2 separate regions of the Homo sapiens genome follow, and region 1 is linked to region 2. Evidence: promoter capture Hi-C in 16 types of primary human blood cells and fetal thymus (Javierre and others, 2016). All regions are on one chromosome and are shown on one strand. The core of a region is centred on a gene start or on the middle of the fragment in contact, and the rest is flanking DNA. Distances in the headings are between cores, read along the strand shown.

What was found. The method cuts DNA at HindIII sites, captures the fragments that hold promoters and counts their contacts. A CHiCAGO score of 5 or more calls a contact.
Region 1: a fragment that was not itself captured here is called in contact with the fragment with the promoter of RRAGB in region 2 in 2 of 17 cell types (non-activated CD4 T cells and activated CD4 T cells); the score reaches 6.5 in non-activated CD4 T cells.

What each region holds. Positions count from the first base shown.
Region 1 is chrX:55,479,479-55,483,737 of GRCh38, reverse strand. No RefSeq gene overlaps it. Among named protein-coding and RNA genes, the nearest start is that of USP51, 8.2 kb to the left of the region's middle. The HindIII fragment of the contact is 561 bases long and covers 1,577-2,137 here.
Region 2 is chrX:55,716,103-55,720,248 of GRCh38, reverse strand. It overlaps RRAGB (Ras related GTP binding B), which reads right to left and starts at 2,500. Exons shown (of 10, transcript NM_006064.5): 1 at 1,830-2,500; 2 at 902-935. The coding sequence starts at 1,921. RefSeq lists enhancers at 1,882-2,011, 2,172-2,371. The HindIII fragment of the contact is 6,209 bases long and covers 1-4,146 here.

The sequences.
Region 1 (4,259 bases), core at 608-3,107, 240 kb after region 2:
ACACAAAGAGAAAACCAGAAAGAACTGGAGATTGGGAGAAAGAGCCCAGGGAACATCGTTTGAACCTTGTGGATCCAGCTGTGCCAGAAGCGCCAAAGTTCCCAGCTATCTGAGCCAATAGAGTCCTTTGTTTTGCTTAAGCTAGTTGTCAGTTGGGATCCTGTCATTTGCAGCCAAGGGTCTTGAACATACTAACCAAGCTATATGATTAGTGGAGCATCAGTTCCTAAGACCACAAAGCATGAGAGAGAAAAGGGAAGGAGGAGTGACCTTGGATGAACTTCATCATATAAAATTAAGAAACTATAGTGGGTCCCTGTACATCTTTAAGAAGCAAGTTTCAGCTCAGCCACTGACCTGTGCTAGACTTCAAACCTTACTCACAGTAATGAAATGCTTATTCCAAATAAAAGGGAAAAAAAGCAATAATGTTATATGAGTACTGATTTAAATCAGGCACTGTGTTAACTGCTTTACCTTTATTATCTCACTTGGTCCTGGGTCCTCATAGTTCTGGGAGACAATCATTACTGAACATATTTCGCAAACTGGGAAAGTGAAAATCAGAATAGAAAAGTGATTTGCTTAAGTTCACTCTACTGTTCTAATCAGTGAAGCCAGTATTCAAATGCAGGTCCCCAAAGCCCATGCATGTCCCATCATAATCCAGTATAGATAATTCAAATATATATATTTTTGCTTTTCCTGATTTTGCTATGGAAGACAGGATAAACCAGCGTGGTACAGAAGGCAGCTTCTGACAAATCTGGATGCAGGTAACCTGCAAGGAGAGAGTAACCTATCTACTACACAAAGTTGCCCATGCTACAGGGGTATTTGTTTCTGTGGAAATGGCTGATTCAGATAGATCAGGCTAAATGACTTTCCTAAGGATAATCATGATGGATGAAGCCAAAATATTACCCCCAATATAAGACATATAGCCTCACTCAATGCTATATGCCAGGCTGAGCCCCAAGACGTGACTGTAAGATCTCATGTTTTTGCGGTCTGTAAAACCATCAGCTCTTTAGCCATACAAGACTTCTTTTCTAACTTCAACACCATAGCCATCACTTTGAGTGTCACTTTTATCACCCCTCTCCCTCAGATCTTCCCAAAATGCCCACAACACCAGCTCCTCCAACGAGCCCGGGGAGGGACTTACCTATTGGGACCTTACCCAAGTGGTCCAATACTGATTTGTAATGTACAGCTTCTGTTGTTTCTGAATTACTTTCATTTCCTTTACCTTGATTCTCTTCCAAACACACAGTAGTGGCTACTCCAGGCTAGGGCCGGACCTATGTGTTTATAAATCCCACAGGCCTACCACAGTTTATGGCAGGTACTTAACATGCTAGCTGAATGAATATATGAATGAATAAATGAAGACATTCCGTTCTACACTCTAAGCCTCAGCTTCAGCAGGTGACTTCATGTCCTATTTTTCTGAAATCAAAAATCTCATAAGAATGCCTGATTTACCCACATCTACACACTTAAGTTTCCATCCATCCTCCATGCCTTCACTGTCATTTCAAAGGAAAAGGAATACTGCTTCTTTTCTGAAGCTTCACCCACTAGCCTCCTTCTTCTCGTCCATTCCTAACAGTCAGAGGGCCTTACTCCTACACACTTCCCTCTATTCTAGTAACAGCCATGTTTTTGCTAGACAGATAAAATCCAGCAACTAGACATCCTAGATTTTCTATGGTAGTTCCTCAAAAATGTTGTCCCATCATCTCTGTAAGAGATAAAAAAAGTATTCCAAATCCCAATACTTCTCCTGAGTGTATATTATCCCCAGAAGAAACCCAAGAGTCTGTTTTAAAATCCAGATTTGGGGATCATGTTTAAAAGAAAAATACATTACCTTTGCTCCCCTTCCTTTTACTGCCAAACTCTTTCACATGTGTTTTTTTCATACATTATTTTCACTTACCTCCTGCTCCATCTTTAGTTCCCTGCATTCTGGTTTCTGCTTGCACCACTCTGTTGAAACTACTTTTGCTTAAGTTAAAATGACTTATTTTTTCAAAATTCCTTATTTTACTACTTTATTCCATTTAGTAAAGAGATATATGATATTTGCAGATAACGGAACAACAATCACAGAATATTTGAAGTTAAAGCTTTCCCAAAAAATCCAGATCATAATGTTGCCATGTTGGCTACCGTTTAGGAGCAGTTTCCCCTTCCCTTATACCAGGAGGGTATGCCAAATCTGAGAAAGGGACTGCAGCTAGAGGTGGAGCAAGTGGAGTTGAGGAAGGGATTGCACAGAAAATCAAATTTTTAAAAACTGTATCATGTTTTAAATGTATCAGAGAAGTTGGTATCTAAGGACAGGTGTAGAAAATCCTTTTTGTATGCAGATGAGGCCTTATCCAGAATCTAACCATGCCCTAAATTGATCTGTTTTTAAAAGAGTCCCCTTAAAGACACACCTGTATTCTATATGCAAACTTACAATTTGAACCCTCTTTCTCACCAACCCTTTAATAGAGAATTAAACTGACTGGCCTATGATTTCTACTTATTTATGATGAGGTACCTGTGGTGAGGCCTAACTAGGAAGAAGATGACTGAGGCACCAGAAAGACTTGAGCTGAAATCACATCCCAGATTTGCCATTTATTAACTGGCAACACTGGGCCAGTAACAGAGTCTTGTGCACAGCCCTCCAAGGATTGTAGAGGAGACTAAAACTAACAGTCTTTGTAAAGCATTTGGTGGATAGCAAAATGCTTGCTATCTACATATGGTTGAAGCTAAAAAGAAAAAATAGTCATATCTCTTGTCCCACGTGTCAGTGTCCAAATACTCTCTTTGACCCACACATGTCCATAGCAGATAAGAAGTGCTAGCTCTCTGGAAGCATATTTTCCAGCACATTACATGGGATTGTTACCTGAGCAAATACTCATCAGGCAGGGCTCTCCCAGTGGGGTGTGTCTTACTGTTGGCTATACTTGATAAAGAATATGAGACTCAGAGAACTTGATTATTTTTTCCAAAATAAATAGTAACTAAGACACAGAGCTGGGTCACAAAGACTGGATGTTAACCACCAGGCTGTGCTGCATCGACAGAAGCTGTCCTGGTCTAGACCAACCTCTAAGGATCTATCCTCCACCCTGGTTTTGTTCTCCTCTACACCCAGGTCAAGTGTTGCCTCCTCCAAGAGGCCTTCTCATATCTCATATCTCCCAAATCAAGAGAGAAGGAGCACTCAGAGCACAGAAGCACTACCAAGGCAGTTTCCACAGATTATAAAAGGGGTCATGTCACTCAGATTAGACTGCAGTTCCAACGCCTGACCCTTCTATCCCTGCCCCTTTGTCAGTAGGGATAGGGCTACATAAAGAGGCCTCCACAAAGAAAACAGGTGTCCGGTAAAAAAGGAGCTAAAAAAACTTCCAAACCTCAGTCACATACTAGCACCCGGAGGGAAAGTGCTTTGGAATTGTAGACTGGCTTGTGCAGGAAAACGTGCTTTTTCTCCCCTAGGGAAGGGCATTTTGTCAGCCACAGCTAAGCAAAGAGTTGCTCCACTCTGGGTTAGCAGACCTAGAAGGAAATGCTGAGTCAGTCAAGAGCCCAAAGGCTAAAGAACCTGGAGTCTGATGTCCGAGGGCAGGAGGAACAGAAGGAAGCATCCCGCACGGGAGAAGGATGAAAGCCAGAAGACTCAGCAAGCCAGCTTGTCCCACCTACTTCCATCTGCCCTGCCTTACCCGTGCGGGCAGCCAATTGGATGGTGCCCATCCACATTGAGGATGAGTCTTCCTCTCCCGGTCCACGGACTCAAACGTCAGTCTCCTCTGACAACACCCTCACAGATGCACCCAGAAACAATACTTTATCAGCTATCTAGGCGTCCTTCAATTCAGTCCAATCAAGTTGACACCTAATATTAACCATCACAGTAGGGATCCTCAGCCTTTTGGTGCCTTGGATCCCTTTGATATCCTGGTACAGCCGGTGGATCCCTTAAGACAATGATATTTTTAACATAAATATATATAACTAAACACACGGGATTATAAAAATGCATTGTATGGAGATGGCATTTTGTACTTTTAGAAAGATATTGTGATGTGAGGAAATTTTTTTTTTAATTAAACCTTACATAACTATCACAAGATGGGTATAATAACTACCATAGTTTCAAAGTAGTGCTGAGCATAGGTGATACTCTGAGAAATGTGAAAGAAGTGTAATGTGATACCGAAATTTTTGTTGGCGACACAGTC
Region 2 (4,146 bases), core at 1,251-3,750:
CTAATTTTTGTTCTTAATCATGTAGAAATTTCTGTACTTTTAGGCATTCTCAATGAAAGCAACTTCAGACAGGCTCATCAAGAACATTCTCTTAGCAAACTGTAGTTACAGAACTGAATTATTAGATGAAGCTAAGGCTAAATATGGTACATTTCCTTCGGTTATTAATTTATACAGTGTACCTCTTTCAATTGCCTATGAAAGACTTACCAAGGCTAATCATGTTAGGTACTGATCTAAGTGTTCTACAGGCATTTACTAATTTAAACGTCACAACAATCTTACGATACAGTTAATATTATTACTACCATTTTACAAATGAGGAAACTGAAGCCCCAAAAGGTTAAGAAATTAGCTTGAGCTGCACTCTTAGCAATTCTGCCTAAACCCCAACGTAGGGCACAGTACTATGAGAGCACAAAGGAAGGTGTGTCCAATTCTATCTGAAGAACTCAATAAGACCTTATAGTGGTAACACTTGAGTTAGGTTAAAAATAAATGTGCAGACAGAGGCCTGTATGGTGTGTGTATATGGCTTACACAAAGTGCAAATTAATTTGTAAATCTGGAGAACAATAAATTCTGTAGGGCTGTGATAGGGTGCATAAGTGTGGCACAGGGTTTGGTCAGGAACAGATTTTAAAGGGCCATGAAATCATTTGGATTTTATTCCATGGGCTTAAAGAAGTTACTAAAGGTTCTTAAGTATGTAGATGACTCAGTCGGATTTTCATATTAGAAAAATTAAATCTGATAGCATACAAGGAGAAGAGAGTCAGACAGACCACACAGAAGGCTCCTGCAATAGTCCAGAAAAGATGGTGTATATATGTCACAAAGTTCCTGAATATCAACTTCTTACCTTTACCTTCATGGTTTTGACGTATCTAACACGTCTTACCTTTTTCTTCATGGCTGTATTTGGTAGCACCCACCTGCAGATATAAACCAAAAAACAGTTTCCATGATCCAATTCCCTTAGAAATTGAAATTAATGAAGTATAAATAAACATGGAGGTACAAAAGAGCATGTTTAGTACAACGGCTGAGTACAGCTGTGTGTGTGGGACCTCAGATGAATAGAGGTCCCATTTTCCTAAATTATAAAACTGTGTGTATACTCTCTATCTCCTAATTAGAAGTTCAAGAGAGAACTCCTAGGAAGATTTATTTAGGAATACAAATGAGCCATTAAAATTCAAGATTCAATTTTTCATCATCTTAATCAAAGCAACACAGCTGCTTTAATCAAACAATATCTTCTATTTCTAAAAAAACAGAATATATTGATATCCTCTACTTGAGGACTGAGTATTGAATATCTTCTATGTATAAAAAACATTCAGCCTCCTAATTTTAAAATCTGGAAGTATCTTTTTAGTCCTTCAGCTGTCCTTCCAAGCCCTATTTCACTCATCACAGACACAAAGTAGATGTAAGTCTCAAATTCAGGTACAAATTGGCACAGAAAACACCCTCAAGCTCTGACCTGGAAATGCAAATCTTCTTTCTAGTCTTTCCATCCCCAACCTGGTGACAGCAAATCTCCTTTACTGATAATTCAAAGCAACTCATAACTGCTTTAATTAGAACACTCCCCCAGCACCACCACCAGGAATATCAGCCCCTTCCCAAGGGTTGTTTCTGATCAGTTAGCACCAATTCGCTTTCCAGTTTATCCTGTCGTCCAAAGCATAATCCCAATCAACATTACTGGTAAATCAAAGCAATTTATCATGGTGCGGGGTGGGGAGAAGTGTTCTAATTCACAATACTCTCTTCAATTTGAACACCCCCACTTCCAGGTTTCACAAATACCCTTCACCCACCCAAGCGATCCTTCCGGTTCCCCTAGTGGTGGATCCATTCTCGGCCCCAGATTTTCTTTCTCCGTCGTTTTCTCAGAGTCAGATTCTTCCATTGCGCAACAAGTCCTTTCCAGTCCCTTCTAAATCTTCAGTACTCTTCAGGGTTTGTTGTTGTTGTTTGTTTGTTTTCTTTTTCACCCCTCAACTGCCTATTCTCATCGCCTATGGCCCTCAGGCCTGCTCTATTCTTGCCTCCGCCTTTGTCCACTGGGGGGCCGCTTTCCCCACGGTTACCTTTATCTCTCGAACCTGGCCTCAAGGCACGGCCGAGCTGGCTAGCTTTAAGGCCAAGTGATTCCGTGGTACAAAGTAAGAGTTGGAGAATGACAGGAAAAGAGAGGTGGGTTAGGGGTTCGTCCCGAGTTTGGGCCTCAGGCCCCCAAGGTCTGGAAACCCAAAGGTAACTTCACCCGCAAAGAGGTGAGGACCGCGAAGGCGGAGGTGGCAGAAAGAGCTGACCCATGCCGTAGGCACTAAGCGGAGAACGCCTCAGCTGGCTCGTGGCTTCCGAGCCCGGCCGCTCGGAGAGTCAGCCGGCGGGGGCAGTAGTTACGACCTAACCACCCGCCCTTCAGGAACCCAGGTATCTCACCGCAGCCACCCAACTGCAGGCCAGGATCACGTGGGCATCTGCCTTACCCCGGAGTCTGTCACGTGACTGCCGCTACCAAAGGGACGGGTGGGCTGGGAAGAATACCATAGAGACAGCTCCAGGAAAGCCAGAGTGCCGTCTGTCATCATCACGTGGCCTTGGCTCAGGCTCCGCCCCTCGGGCGGGGTAGGGCGCTGGGAGCCTTCAGCCTCTCTAATGTGGGTGGGCCTGGCCCCACCCATCCGCTATGGAGAATTAAAGGAGCCGGTTGCAATTTCAGTGCCTCTGAGCTTCTCTTTTTTACTGCTGGTTACCGGTAATGGTTTTTGACTGGGAAGACCGAGCATTGTCTTTGCCTTCCTGCTTTTTATTGTTAATTCTTGCAATCGAGTTTGTAATTAAATGATTAATACATCCAAAGCGCTTAGAACTGTGTCTTCCACATAGCAAATACTGTATAAATTATCGTTATTGCTGAAACCAGGGATTCATCAGGAATTTTAACACACACATTCATCTTCCCACTTGTTTAAAACAGGAAGTGAAGGAAGTACCATAGTAAGAAGTCAATAAATAAAGTCTAGGGCTGGGAGTGGTGGGTCATGCCTTTAATCCCAGCACTTTGGGAGGCTGGGGAGGGAGGATCACTTGAGGCCAGGAGTTCAAGACCAACCTGGCCAACATAGCGAGACCCCATCTGTAAATAAGTGAAGTCTAGAATTGAGAACAGAAAGACTACTGGTAGGGATATGCACACCAGGAAAAATGCCCAGAGGGGTTCAAAGATGTTCCTTCTGGAGAATGGGGTAGGGGATAGGACGTGATATGTCAGGGGACTATTATTTTTTATCTGAAGCCCTTCTGTGCTATATATATTTCTATAATGTATAAATGATATATAATAATAAGATTAATATGACATTTAATTATATTTAATATAATCAACTAATACTTAAATAATATGTTATAAATATGTTATTTTAAATAAATGTGTAGTTTAATTATATTATTTATAATTAATATATGATATACTACATGTATTATTTACACGTAAGTGTGTACATATATTACTTTGATAAGAAAAAAAGGGAAGGAAGGAAGAGAAACTGCAGGAAACAGAGTACTATTATTGAAACTGCCTTTGCAAAAACTGTAACTGAGGAAATTATGACAGTGAAAGAGATCAGACCTCACCGACTCCATCTTACATCTAACCTTTAAGGTGTCCTTGTTCATTCCTGGGCGTAGGCCGAACTAACCTTGGGAAGGAATTTAGTTTATAGTTTAACTCTGATACAAAATTGATAATAGCCCTTTCTCCCTCCCGCTGCCCCCCACTAAAAAAAAACAAAAAAACAAAAAAACCTTCTTACCTGGGAACCAGTCGGCCTTTGCAGGACTAACAAATTAGCCACAAGATTACAAGATTAGAAATTACAATTCAGGGGCCATGCAGCCTCCAGCTGCAAGAGTCTGAACCTCCCCAAATTGCTCCCAGGAATAACATCACTGTTTTAAAACCTAAGATCACTGTTTGATATGTTTTGCAGACCCTGCATTCAGATGCACCAGCTTATGATACAGGAGCGGGGCAGGAAAGTGCTGGGCAGAGAAAGGCGGGTCCGTGGCTAGGGCTCCACCCTGGGGCCTGTGCCCATGGACCTAGGTGAGGATAGGCACTCCTGC